2 separate regions of the Homo sapiens genome follow, and region 2 is linked to region 1. The links are contacts of gene promoters, found by promoter capture Hi-C in human tissues and cell types (Jung and others, 2019). All regions are on one chromosome and are shown on one strand. Each heading gives the region's core, a stretch centred on a gene start or on the middle of the fragment in contact. The rest is flanking DNA. Distances are from core to core; before and after follow the strand shown.

Region 1 (6,403 bases), core at 2,534-5,033:
CTGGTGCCAGGTGCCGGGTTTGCTTCCCCTGGCAGGCAGCAGTACCGCAGCCCTTTCCTCCAGGCCCCAGCTTCACGAAGTGACCCCAGGTCTCAGCAAATGCCTCCCCTGTTTTCCTCATTCTCTCCAGGGCCTCACCAACCTCTGCTTCCCTCTGGCCTTCCAGAGAAGGCAGATGCCAGGATTGTTCTTTCCCTGCACTTGCTCACCTCTTCCAGCCCAAACACCCCTGATCTAGCTTCTCTACTCTCTCCCACATCTCTTTTGTTTACCAAACATGCCTGGGAGGGAGAATGGAGGGACTCTCATGAATAAACCCTCCTTCAATGCTACAACCTCCTCAAAATACTGTGGATTATTTTCAAACAGCACACTTCTGGATCCAGTGTCTATACCTGCAGTTTCACTGTCTTGGCAATCATTGTCTCCTTCTTCCCTTGCAGCCTGGCTTCATGAACACCCCTTGCAGACACTGTTCTATCAGTGGCCTTTTCCTATCATCCTTCTGGGGATGGGCGTCTCTGAGACATCCCTGCCTCTCCACTTGTCTGCTAACCTCTCTCATGGGCTTGTCTGCATAGCTCTTCCTGTCCTTGAAACTCAACTCTGACCTCAGCATCCTCCCTGGTGCTGCGGGGATGTGTCTGAGGGCAGAAGAAAGAAGCTGAAAACTTGAGTCTCTAAGTCTGTCTTCTTAAAGAGATTCAGCCTCTCTTTGGATTTGCTCCTGACCTTTTGTGGGTTCATCTTTGGAATTTGTCCCCTTGTGGATGGTGCAGTAGGAGAGACCTTCCAACAGAGATGCCCCCACCACCATGGTCCGAGTCACTTAGGCCCACATGATCAAAGGCAAGGGGGTATCCACAGCTCTGTGTTATCTTGTTCAGCTCACCAGGCCTGGAGCCTCTGGGAGAGGGTTTCCACAACACCCTACAGTATGATCAGCCGGGGGTAGTGGGGTCTGGGGTGTTCCCTCTGCCTCTTTTCCTGTCTAACCTGAGGAAGTTGATTAGCAACTGTTCCAGGCCTTATCTGGGTATGAAAAAAATAAGGCCCTAAAGAAACACACCCAGGGCAGCATGGTGAGTGTGCTAAAGGGTTGTGTAGGAGCAGAACGAGGGGCCAGGTTGGGCGCAGTGACTCATGCCTCTAATTCCAGCACGTTGGGAGACCAAGACACCAGGATCACTTGAGCCCAGGAGTTCGAGACCAGCATAAGCAACATGGTGAAACCCATCTCCACAAAAAACACAAAAATTATCTGGTTGTGGTAACACACACCTGTGATCCCAGTTACTCAGGAGGCTGAGGTGGGAGGATTGCTTGAGTCTGGGCAACAATGAGACCCAGTCTCAAAAAAAAAAAATATCTCACACATCTCCCTACTATCTGGAGAACTAAGTTCCTCTGAGTCCTTAGTTCCTCTGAGTCCTTAGTTCCTCTGAGTCCTTAGCACTGAGTCCTAACTCAGGATCAACCTCTCGACTTCTACCTAAGAGCTCCTCCACAAAGCCTTTCAGATCCTCTCTGGCAAAAGTGACTTCTTTTTCCTCCATACTCCCAAAATGTTTTATTTGGACCACTCTTCAGGTACTTTACTCACTTAATTATCTCTTCACTCCTTCATCCAATAAACACATGGCGTCTACTACATGCAGCATGTGCACTGGTCTGCACCATAGTGCTTAGCAGGCTTCTCTCCCTTCTCCTGCTGGACAGAAACTGACAAACTGACAGCAGCGAGGGAGCATCTTTCATCTAAGCATATCCTGGAACCTCGAAGCCTCCTCAGCCTCCAGCACAGCAAACCACAGGTATTCCAAAAATAAAATGATTGAAATGAACAGAGAAATTATCATAAGTTTCCTTAAATAGTAAACTGCCATAAAGTACATGCAAAATCAATTTCAGCGATAGATTTAAAGTATAATTCAATATTTTTCCAGGAGCATATTAACTATGTCAAGGTAGGTACATTTATATACTTTACATGGTTCTGATTTTTCCTCTCCTAGCACCTGCCACCCCCCTACTCCTACACCTAACCCCCGCAACACACACACTCACTCACACAACTAGGTGGTTATTATAGGAGCAGAAGCTCTGGGCCCATCCTAATGGAAGAAGGAATTCATGAAGCCAGAACCACCACCTACAGCCAGGGGTGTGTTCTGAGACATTCTCTTCTGCCCCCACAAGCAGCACTCCCACTTCACACCTGCCAACCTGTACCTATCTGGCCACCACCCAGAAGTCACAACCCACAAAAGCTGGCCCAGTAGAGATGCCAGGCCCCTAAAGCCCTCCAGTGTTCAGAGACCCCACTGGAGAACAGGCCCTGAAGGTCCAGGGGGTCTCTCTGCAAGGACAGATCAGGGCATCACTTACTGCAGCCACTCAGCAACCACTTCCAGTAGTTTCATTGCGATTTGTCAAGGCAAACATATCCACCTACCCTACCTTTGGTGGAGGCAAGAGGTTAGGCCAGCTGCAGGGGACAGACTCAGACTCAGCTCCATCCCCCAACACTGCCCAACGGCCAGTCCCAGGGCAGGTCTGGAGCTCTGGAATGCCCTCGTGCCTGCCATTCCAGTCTCTGCGACCAGCCCATGCCAGACCTTGTCCTCTTCCCACTCCAGTGTCCCTTATCAAGGTCTCTGCATAGATTTGGGCTGCCGAGGACAGCTTCTGGCAAACTCCTGCCAGGGGTCCTGGACCCTCCTGCTGCTGAATTCAGCCTTGCGCTTTAATGGATTTTCCAAATAGCGGGGACCACAGGCAGCTCAAAGACTTAAAACACAAACGCAAACCCGAGGGAGGGAGAGAGGAACAGAGGGAGGGAGAAACCAGATTTTAGGAGAAACTCGACTTCAGAGAGAGAGCAGGATTTCCCTATCACTATGTTCCCCATCTCCCCGGCAGACGCCAATAACCGGCCCTAAGATGCCCTTGATCTTTGCGCGCCCCCTGCATTCCCTCGCCCCGCGTCTAACGTCTCATCTGGGCAAAGAGGCGGGGGTTGAGAGATGAAACAAGCCCGAGGGAGGATGGTCCCCAAGACATTACCTGAGGCCGGAGTACCTGAGTACCTCCACTCCTGTCGGAGGAAGGGACCAGAAGACGGCCCAGGGATGGGGACCCGGGATGCGCGCCCGAGCAGGAGGTCCCGGCCCTGTCTTGAGTACCCCCGGCAGTGCGTCTCCGGTTGTCCCGCTGTCTCGGTCCCGCTCTGTCTAGCCCCCTCCCCTGGGCTGCGCCCTCCCCGTCCCCGGCCGGATGCTAGAGGAGTTTGCGCCGCCCAACGTGGGACCCCGGTTCGGCGTCCTCACTCCCCGCCCTGCCAGGGCTGGGATTCCCGCACCCGGATTTGTAGCTAAACTTTCCTGGGCACACACGGTCTCGGGGGTGCCGGGCCTCCCCCATCCCCTGCCCACCCGGAGCCGCGCGTCCCGGCTGCAGCGGGACGGTCGCTTCACCTGCTCGCGGCTTGGCCGAGGCTCCCGCGGCTTCCTCGCGCGTCCAGACCCAGGCGCCGCCCGGCGGGTCCCCGCGCAGCTGCCGCCACCGCGGCCACCACCGGTGCCGCCGCCGCGCCTGCCCCGAGCTGCAGAGCCGCGGTTCGCCGGCAGCCGCGGGAGGCGCAATCCCGGTGCCTTGGGTTCGGCCTGCGGCTCCTCGGCTGCCTGCAGCCGCCGCCCCGCCGCGTCCCGCTGCCCGGGGCCGGCACGCACCGGCGCTGGGGTCCGCTCCTCGCCTCGCTGCGCAGGGGATCCGCCGAGCCTCCAGGATGGGCGGGGATTCCCTCCCCCTGGTTGATTCGAGGGGCGGGAACTCCCTTCCCCGAGTGACAGGGACGGGGGGCGGGGATTCCCCTGCAGGAATAACAAGGTGGGCGGGGATTTCCCCGAGCGAGCCCCGCCGCGGGCAAGGCGTCTCTCTGGGTGAGCCAGGAGTCCTGGTGCGCCCGCTTCAGAAACCTGGGGATCGTGGGAGGAAGGCATCCAGGGAGATGGCTGCTCCGAATCTCCATACAGGCGGGGCTTAGGGCGCCATCTAGGTGGAACAGAGCGAGCTAGGGGACGTGAAGTTGCCTCTGCATAGCACTTTACACAGCAAAGAGAAAAATGTCAGTTACCTTATCAAAGAATGGGGCGGAGGGGCCACAGGAGATGGGGGAAGAGCTAACCACTCACCCCAAGCTACCCTTAGCCTCTGGTCCTTGGGATACCAAAGGTAATTTAGCACTGGTACGAGGATTTCGGGGAGAGGGGACCTCTTGGCACCTCAGAGCTGCTTAATCCCCCAGTTAAGCCCCTGGGGGGGAATCCCATGGCCCTGGGGTGGTGGTTTTGGTCCCATGAGCACTAGCCACGAGCTCCTGCCGAGTGGACTGTGAGAGCTAATGCCAGCCGCCCTTGGCTCCCGTCCAGGTCACTCGAGGAACCGAGCCTCAGGCTTTTGGGATCCTTCATTCCGGTGGATTTTCAGGAAGGCCTTCAAATATTTTTGGTTCTTTTTTTGTCATCCTTGTCATTCTGCCTACCAAAGGGAGAGGATGATAAGAACATAATAGGAAGACTGCACAGCTCTGCAAATTAAGCTCTCTTAAGAGGAAAAAGCTGGTCTTTTTCAAGTGCTGGCAGATAAGAGTAAAAACATATGAAAAATTGCAAAACCTGGGATAATGAATAGTTGAATAATGCTTTTGACATTTTCTACAGAACAGTAATTGGAAATCTTTGCTTTCGGGGGGATGGGGATGGGACAGGGCAGGCCCCAGCTGCAGTTCTGCCCAGCAAGGCAATAAACTCTGGCCTCTCCGAAAAGCAGGCAGACATAAATCACCTGCGCAGACCGGACAGCGCTGTCCCACCACACCAGAGACCAGAGTGGGCCCAAGGCATTTGGAGGTGGTATTGTCCTCAGGGGCTGGGGTGGAGAAGTTCTTGATTTCAGCTGTTCTTCAGCTTTTATAATTACCAGGCCATTGAGATCAATGCTTGCACAAATCCAAGCATCGTATATGACAAGCTGGGCACTCAGGCACTCAGAGCTTCTCTTCCTATGTGTAAATAGAGAAAACACCTACCATGCAGGATTGCTGGAACTAGCAGTAACACAGCTATTCAGCACAGCACTTAGGAGGTGCTCAATGAAATGGTAACCATTATCAATGAAAGGTATCATTGGGACACTACAAAAAAATCCTTCTAGAAGGATCAAACAGGGCTGGTGCTTTCTGTTTTTTCCACAATCCCAGGCCCATCTTCCACCACTCTGTCCCGTGTTTTCTCAGCCTCTGTACCCAGCACATACCTTGGGCCTACCTCCCTCAGCACCAATGAAAAGTTTGCTGAATCAATGAATATGCAAATAAATGTATCACTCAAACTGTAGTCACTGCTATTTCTTATCCACTCCATCCCCAACTCTTTCATTCCAGCCATGTACTCCTAATCTGTAAATTCTGTTTCCTCTGCCAGAGTGACATTCTCACTCTCCTGTGTCTGCTGAAATCCCAAGGAGGTAAATGTCATCTCTACTGGAAAGGCTTCTCTGATCATCAGAACAAACATCACGTTTCCTCTGCCTTGTTAATTGCTGCAATGGTAGCACTTTATGCAAATTGCTCATCTAACCCTTGTCAGGTGTATTATGTTGTAGGAATTATGGCGTTTTGTCTCACATATTTCTAGCTTGTGAGTTCTTGGAGGTAAGAGAACTTAAAGCTTATTGTTTGTGTTCCCAAAGCCTAGGGTGGCATGGTGTCCGACCCAATAGCCACTCAATAAATATTTGCTGAATTAAAATGAATTGTTAGGTATATACATGTATGTTATATGTGGCATATATTATGTATAAATACAATATATACAGATGTATTTTATAATCTGTCTCCTTCAGACATGGCCCTGCTGACCTGCTTTAAATACTTCGTTTCAATCACTTTTCAGCTGATATTTTCCAGATATTTTTGGCAAGTTCTTATCTGCTAATAATAGCTCAATTCACAGAGGTCAATCAAATGCATGGAAATTTTGTTTTGCCCTTGCAGTCTTGTCAATTTGGAAAGCTGACAACTGAGGGCATTTATTTTCCAATGTTTGAAGATCAAAATGTAAATCCTTTTTGCCCCCTTGTTAAACATTTAGTCACAGATTAGTATTTCTATCAAAGTTGCCATTTTAATTTAGTGCTCATAATATATGTGATGTGGAGGAGGAGGAGGCTGTATATAGAATATCTAAGACTTCAGAGCAAAGGAAGATTAAAATGATAAACAAAGAAAAAATGTGTGATCCCAAGCTATATCAGTGACAGAATGTAGCGTGGTTTAGGTGAGTCCAAGTAGATTCTCATGGATTGCAGTGCCATGTGGTTTACTTCTGAGCTTTCTCCCTCT
Region 2 (6,403 bases), core at 1,665-4,164, 44 kb before region 1:
AGAAACATGCCTAACCTATTAGAAAATAACTTAAAAACTATCAATGAAGAAATATGAAATTTTTGTATTATAATGGTATTATGGCTATTTTTTTTTTTGAGACGGAGACTCGCTCTGTCGCCCAGGCTAGAGTACAGTGGCACAATCTCGGCTCACTGCAACCTCTGCCTCCCAGGTTCAAGTGATTCTCCTGCCTCAGCCTCCCGAGTAGCTGGGACTACTACCTGGGTAGTAGGGTAGGGTAGTAGGGTAGCTGGGACCATACCTGGCTGATTTTTGTATTTTTATTAGAGACAGGGTTTCACCATGTTGGCCAGGCTGATCTCGAACTCCTGACCTGTGATCCGCCCACCTTGGCCTCCCAAAGTGCTGGGATTACAGGTGTGAGCCACTGCACCTGACCTTATGGCTATTTTTTAAAAGTCTTCATCTTTCATAAATACATAGTAAAAACACTGACAGATAAATGACGATGTCTGGGATTTGTTTGAAAATAATATGGGCTGGGTGCGGTGACTCACACCTGTAATCCCACTGTGGGAAGCCAAGGCAGGTGGATTGCTTGATCCCAGGAGTTTGAGACCAGCCTTGGCAACATGGTGAAACCTCGTTTTTACAAAAAATACAAAAATTAGCCAGGCATGGTGGTGCACATCTGAAGTCCCAGCTACTCGGAAGGCTAAGGTGGGAGGAATGCTTCAGCCCAGGAGGCAGAGGTTGCAGTGAGCTGAGAAAACACCATTGCACTCCAGCCTGGGCGACAGAGTAAGACCCTGTCTCAAAAAATAATAATAATAAAATAAATGCGAAGGGTAGTGGGTATGCATGCGGACGAGGCAGCATGGGCTGATGGTGTAGAAGCTGTGTGATAGATACAAGAAGGTTCATTTTACTCTTTTCACAACTTTTGTGTATGTTCTCAGTTTTCCATATTACAAAGTTCTTTTAAAAAACCTGTTGAGGAACTGGAAGAAAATGTTAAGAGAAAAGTCTAGCTTGCTTTTAAATAAAAAGGTTCAATGATTTTTTTTTTACTTCAAATTAATCTATAAACTCAATGTAAACCCAATTAAAATACCAACAAGGAGTATTTTTAGAAAGCTCCTCTGGAAAAATAACCATAATAGCCAGCAAAATTAGGAAAGAGAAGGGGGTCAAGCGGGTAGGGCAGAGAACGCCTGCTCTTACAAGCATTGAAACTTATAAAGCTACAATAATGAAAGGAATTTAGTAATGGAGAACAAACAGAGAGGGCAATGGTGCAACATGAAATTCCAGAAATAGGCTCCAGTGCCTGCTAGGTGCCAGGCACTATTCAACATGTTGAATAATTGGCACCAAGCAAAACAGATAAAGATTCTACCCTTAAATAAGTAAATAAATAAGAACATCTACATAGTGCCAAGTGTTTTAGAGAAAATAAAGCAAGACAATGAGATAAAGGGCAACGGGGGTGACATGAGTTGAGACCTAAAAACTAGCATAACACAGATGATCTAGGACAAGGGAAAAGCATTCTAGGCAAAGGAAGAGGCAAGAGCAAGACCCTAAGGTTGAAATGAGTTCACACATCACGAAACAAAAAGCAGGTTGTGGGTAACAGAGAAGAGGCAAGGAAGATAGGCAGGGGCTAGATTATATAAACCTTGCAGTGGCTGGTGAGGACTATGAATTCTATTCTAATTGAGATGGAAAACACTTTAAAGGGTTTTAGTTTGCAGAGCGATGTATCTGTTTAACATCTAAAAAAAAAAAAAACTGCTCTAGCTACTATGTAGACAGAGGGTTCTATACCAACAAGAATATTCTGGAAATGCACTTCCAGTTTGCAATGGTCTACCCAAGAGGTGATGTTGGGATAAAAGAGGTAGAAGTGACAGGAATGGTGACAAGTGGTCTGGTTTGAAATATGGCTTTAACACAGTGCCAGTATACTGATGGCTTAGAAGTGGAGAAAAAGAAAGGAATCCAGGATGACTCCCATTGCTTTGGTCAAAGTAACTGGGTAGATGATGGCACCATCAATCAAGAAAGAGAAGATGAGCAGGGGCCATGGGACAGTAAATCAAGGACTCTACTGTCATATCCATCCATCACTTGAGACACCTATCAGACACCCAAGTAGGACTGTCAGTAGGCAGGTGGCTGCTACAGGAGGATGGAGCTCACCTGTAAATTTGTACGGGGGCATCAGCAAAAGATACAATGAAGACAGCATTTCAGATCTACAGGGAAAATAGATCTGTAGGGATCCTTTGATAACTGGTGTTGAGGCAATTGCCTTTGCTTTTGGGGAAAAACACTCAAGTTCCCAAATAACTTCCAAATGGATCAAAAATTAAAAAAAAAATACTGGTGAGTCTATGTGGCAAATGGCTCTCCCACACTCTTGGTGGGAGTGTAAATTTGTGCAACCTTTCTTAGGGACAATATGGCACTGGGTATCAAATTTAAAATACATATTGACTTTGTTCCAGTAATCCTACTACTTGGATTAATTTATTCAACAGATATACATACGAGAATTTCCTGGGATGTAGGTACAAGGATGTCCGCTGCAGACTCTTTGCAGTAAAAAATTAGAAACAAGCAAAGCCTGCCTCAACAGCAGACTGGTTAAATAAATTATCAAACGTCCATAAGACAGACTACTTTGCAGAGGATACAAAAAATGCAGGAAACCTTTATGAGCTGATATCAAACTATCTCCCAGGCACGTTATGTGAAAAATTAGCAAACAGAACTTCTTGTGCTTTATTATCCTTCTATGTAAATGTATGAGTGTCCATGTACAAAGTCTTTTGATTTTCATCTTTTATCATTCCCAAAGTAGTTTGAATTTTGTAACCATGTACATATTTTCCATTTAAAAAAACCAGTAGGGACTATTTGAACGGTGAAATTATGGGTCACCTTTTTGTTTTCTTTATACTTCTTGGAATGTATTTTTTTAAAGCACCCTTACAAATATTACTAGAAAATAAAACTTCAAAGAATATGATCCCACATCCCCACTAAGACTGTGGACAAATCACTTTAAATCTACAGGACAATCTTATGACCTTCTTTTCTAATTCGTTTTCTTTTCTTTCTTTCTTTTTTTTTTTTTTTTTTAACATTCTGATCTCACTGAGATTTTGTACCTTCAGGCTCTGTTGGAAGCAGCCTGTACCCAAAGCCAAGCTGTAAAAGTTGCAGGGGAGCCACAGAGCTGCCAAGGAGGGTGTTTAATGAGCAAAACTTAAGGGCCGAATGCAAATTACTAGCAAACACCAGATGGCAGGGGTCAGGGGGAGATGGCCTCAAAGAGATAAAGTCAGAGTACTGGTCAGGTCCAGAGAAAAATGACTCCCATCTGACTTGGGGGCGGTGAGAGTGTCACGGGGTTCACACAGCTGGTGTGCACACTCCCCATGATCGGGAGAAGGGGTCTTTCTGCGTAAGCTTATGGCTGGAAAGTCAGGGGAAAGGGAGGGGTGGAGGATACAAAAGGTACAAGGTAGCTTGTGGTGGAAATGGAGCGTCTTGGTCTACGTAAAAATTCACCTGCAGGGCTTTTGAGGGTTAGCTGTCCTGAAATCCCAAAATGTGTAAACCATGTACACACACACACACACACACACACACACACACACACACACACACACACAGCCGAAAGACTGAGAATGCGCTAGTTCTATTTAATCTTGGAGGAGAAAATTAACAGAGTTCAATTAAACCATTATTAAGAACTTTAAATGGGGATTAGTGCTTATTTTCACATTTCTTTAACCTTTAAAATTACACTCTTATTTAAATACAAAGTTAATAGTATTGGATTGTGCTGGCCTTATTTGTTGTAATGAAGCCTTGTTCTTAATTGGAAAGCAAGAATGTACCATTCCACTTCTCCCAATTAACCACCTTTATTGGAAGCCAGGCTTCCGGAAACACAAAGCTATCAACTAAGGCACCGACATTCTCCCGGGGGACAGTTTGCCCTAACCACGGACTTGAAAGAAAGAAAACTGTTCATATTGGCCTTGCACACCCAAACTTAAAACAGACCACAGACACGAGAGTGTCCAATTCAAACACTGACCCCTGCCTAAGCCCCTCTGCGAAGCTTGTGTAGTAGCTCTCCCCCTCCCCGTGGGTCCTCCAGGAAACACACAGCAGCTGCTTCAGACCATCATTGCTACCCTCGCTCTCGCCTCTAGTTTAACCAGCCCCAGTTCCTTTAAACTCGCCACTTGGGTCTAATTTTCCAATCATATAATTATATCTATCTATGCGTCTTAGGGAGAAGAAAGAATGCGATGTTCCAAAAAAAATTACAGCCCTCTTTTGGTCCTATACTATGCATTTTCCGCTTCTGGTAAGGAATCTAAGCTATGCCACTACAATATATTTAGTTGGAGTAAACTCCTCTCCAGCATTCCTTCTTTTAAACGTATTATTCCTTTCTTAGGAGAAACTAGCTCAAGGGAGCTGGGGGTATTTAAATGGAGTCTCTATGGTCACCAAAAGCATCACATGCCCTGAGAGCAAACACAGTTGCTAAAATCAGCTTGTCAGTATCTTCAAACTCTCATTTAACTTGTCTTAAGGTAAACTTTTTATTATAAGAACTAACTTTTGAGAAGTTTTATAGTTTCGAAAACTCTTCCACATAGCATTTTGTGATCCAATATGGTAGGAGAGGTGTTGACAGGAAGATAGACATAGACACATACGCACATATTATATATATTATATTATACATATATAATGTGTATATGTATATGAGGAACCTATACATATGTATAGGCTCACGCCTGTAATCCTAGCACTTTGAGAGGCCGAGGTTGGTGGATTACTTGAGGTCAGGAGTTCAAGACCAGCCAGACCAACATGGCGAAACCTCGTCTCTACTAAAAATACAAAGAATTAGCTGGGTATGGTGACACATGCCTGTAATCCCAGCTGCTCGGGAAGCTGAGGCATGAGAATTGCTTGAACCTGGGAGGCGGGGGTTGCAGTGAGCCGAGATTGTGCCACTGGACTCCAGCCAGGACAACAAGGTGAGACTCTGTCTCAACAAAACAAAGTAAAAACAAAAACAAATAAAACATGTTATAAGTATTGATGAATCAACAGTCATAAGCCTTTAATGTTCATTACATGTTGAAAGAAAAAAACAGTAATTTTCCATCCAAGTTGCAGCCCCATATTCAGAAGCATTTAGTGATATCTGGCAATGGTCTCCATTCATGGAAAAAGCAAAATTATTTGCATATATGGTGGGAATTATTTTACAGGTGTTGACTTGAGGACAAGAAAGTTGGGTGGGGGTAGGTGGGGGGATCTTGGGAAGGAATTCAGATCTGGCCAGTCCCCAGAATGGGTGTCCACAGTCAGCAATTGTCCGAGGGGCAAGGCCGTATAGGGAAGCACAAGCTAGATCTGCGGCCGTTGCTGTGGGGCAGGCATCTCTCAGAGCTGCAGGGAAAAAGCTGCTGGGCTGGGCAGAGGTTCCGTGCACCCACAACAGGAAGCATCTACAAATCCAGCAGGGCCTGGCGCCCGGTCAGGGATTTCAAGGACAAGCCGGCATCATTTCCAGAGGGCAGTGGAATAATTAAGCTCGCACGTCCTGACGAGAAGGCTGGCAGGTCTGGCTGCAGAGCCACAACAAGCCTGTTTCTGGCTGCCTGAAATGTGTTCACCACCAGGGTCTGGCCACAGAAACGGGAGCCACATGCAGGTCGATTCCAGCCCCTCAAGGCAGCAGAGGAAGACTTAGCTTCCTGAGGCTGGCATAAATGAGGAGTATTTTTTTTTTAAATTGGCTTCCCAAGTGCGAAGTTCCTCCTCAAATCTTAGGAGGCTGAATCCCACAGCCAGCCATCCTCACCTCTCATTAGCAGTTGGTCTCGGAAATTTTATTTGAGCCCAGAACCCTTCTAATTTCCTCTCTGATCAGATAGATGGATGGAAGTCTTTCTTTTGCAATGTCTACCAAGCAAAAGTTTGCCATTTCCCCACCGGCTCCATCCTTCCATCTGACAAGAGCCTTTCTGTGAAGGGAAGCTTAGAGTCACCATCAGACTTGTCCCCTAGGACCCAGGCAGATCCTTGTGACAATCAGCCGAGGGCCTTGTCCTCCCCGAGCCCACCGTCCATTCAGTTTTCTGGTGACACCTACTCCATCCATGAATGAATTAAAGAGCAAATGAATGAGTGAGGACTTGACAAGACTTCTCAATCATTTCATGAATGCGAGGCATTATAAATATAAAATAATTCCATATCAGATATCCAAGAAAAATGCTCTAGAAGATGCATTTAAACCTTTTGGAGCTAAACATTTTGAGGACTGTGGTGTTCGAAGATTTGACAAAATTCTACAAACTGTGTGCTTTTATGTAAGTTTAGGCATTCC

Evidence for each region. The method cuts DNA at HindIII sites, captures the fragments that hold promoters and counts their contacts. A contact is called where the count stands out against the background at its distance.
Region 2: a fragment that was not itself captured here is called in contact with the fragment with the promoter of PDZD2 in region 1 in 2 of the 25 tissues and cell types used here (dorsolateral prefrontal cortex and pancreas).

What each region holds. Positions count from the first base shown.
Region 1 is chr5:31,636,511-31,642,913 of GRCh38, reverse strand. It overlaps PDZD2 (PDZ domain containing 2), which reads right to left and starts at 3,783. Exons shown (of 25, transcript NM_178140.4): 1 at 3,477-3,783. RefSeq lists a silencer at 3,480-3,829. The HindIII fragment of the contact is 21,895 bases long and covers 1-6,403 here.
Region 2 is chr5:31,679,919-31,686,321 of GRCh38, reverse strand. All of the region lies in intron 1 of PDZD2 (PDZ domain containing 2), which reads right to left. Among named protein-coding and RNA genes, the nearest start is that of PDZD2, 44 kb to the right of the region's middle. RefSeq lists enhancers at 5,060-5,577, 5,578-6,096. The HindIII fragment of the contact is 4,329 bases long and covers 750-5,078 here.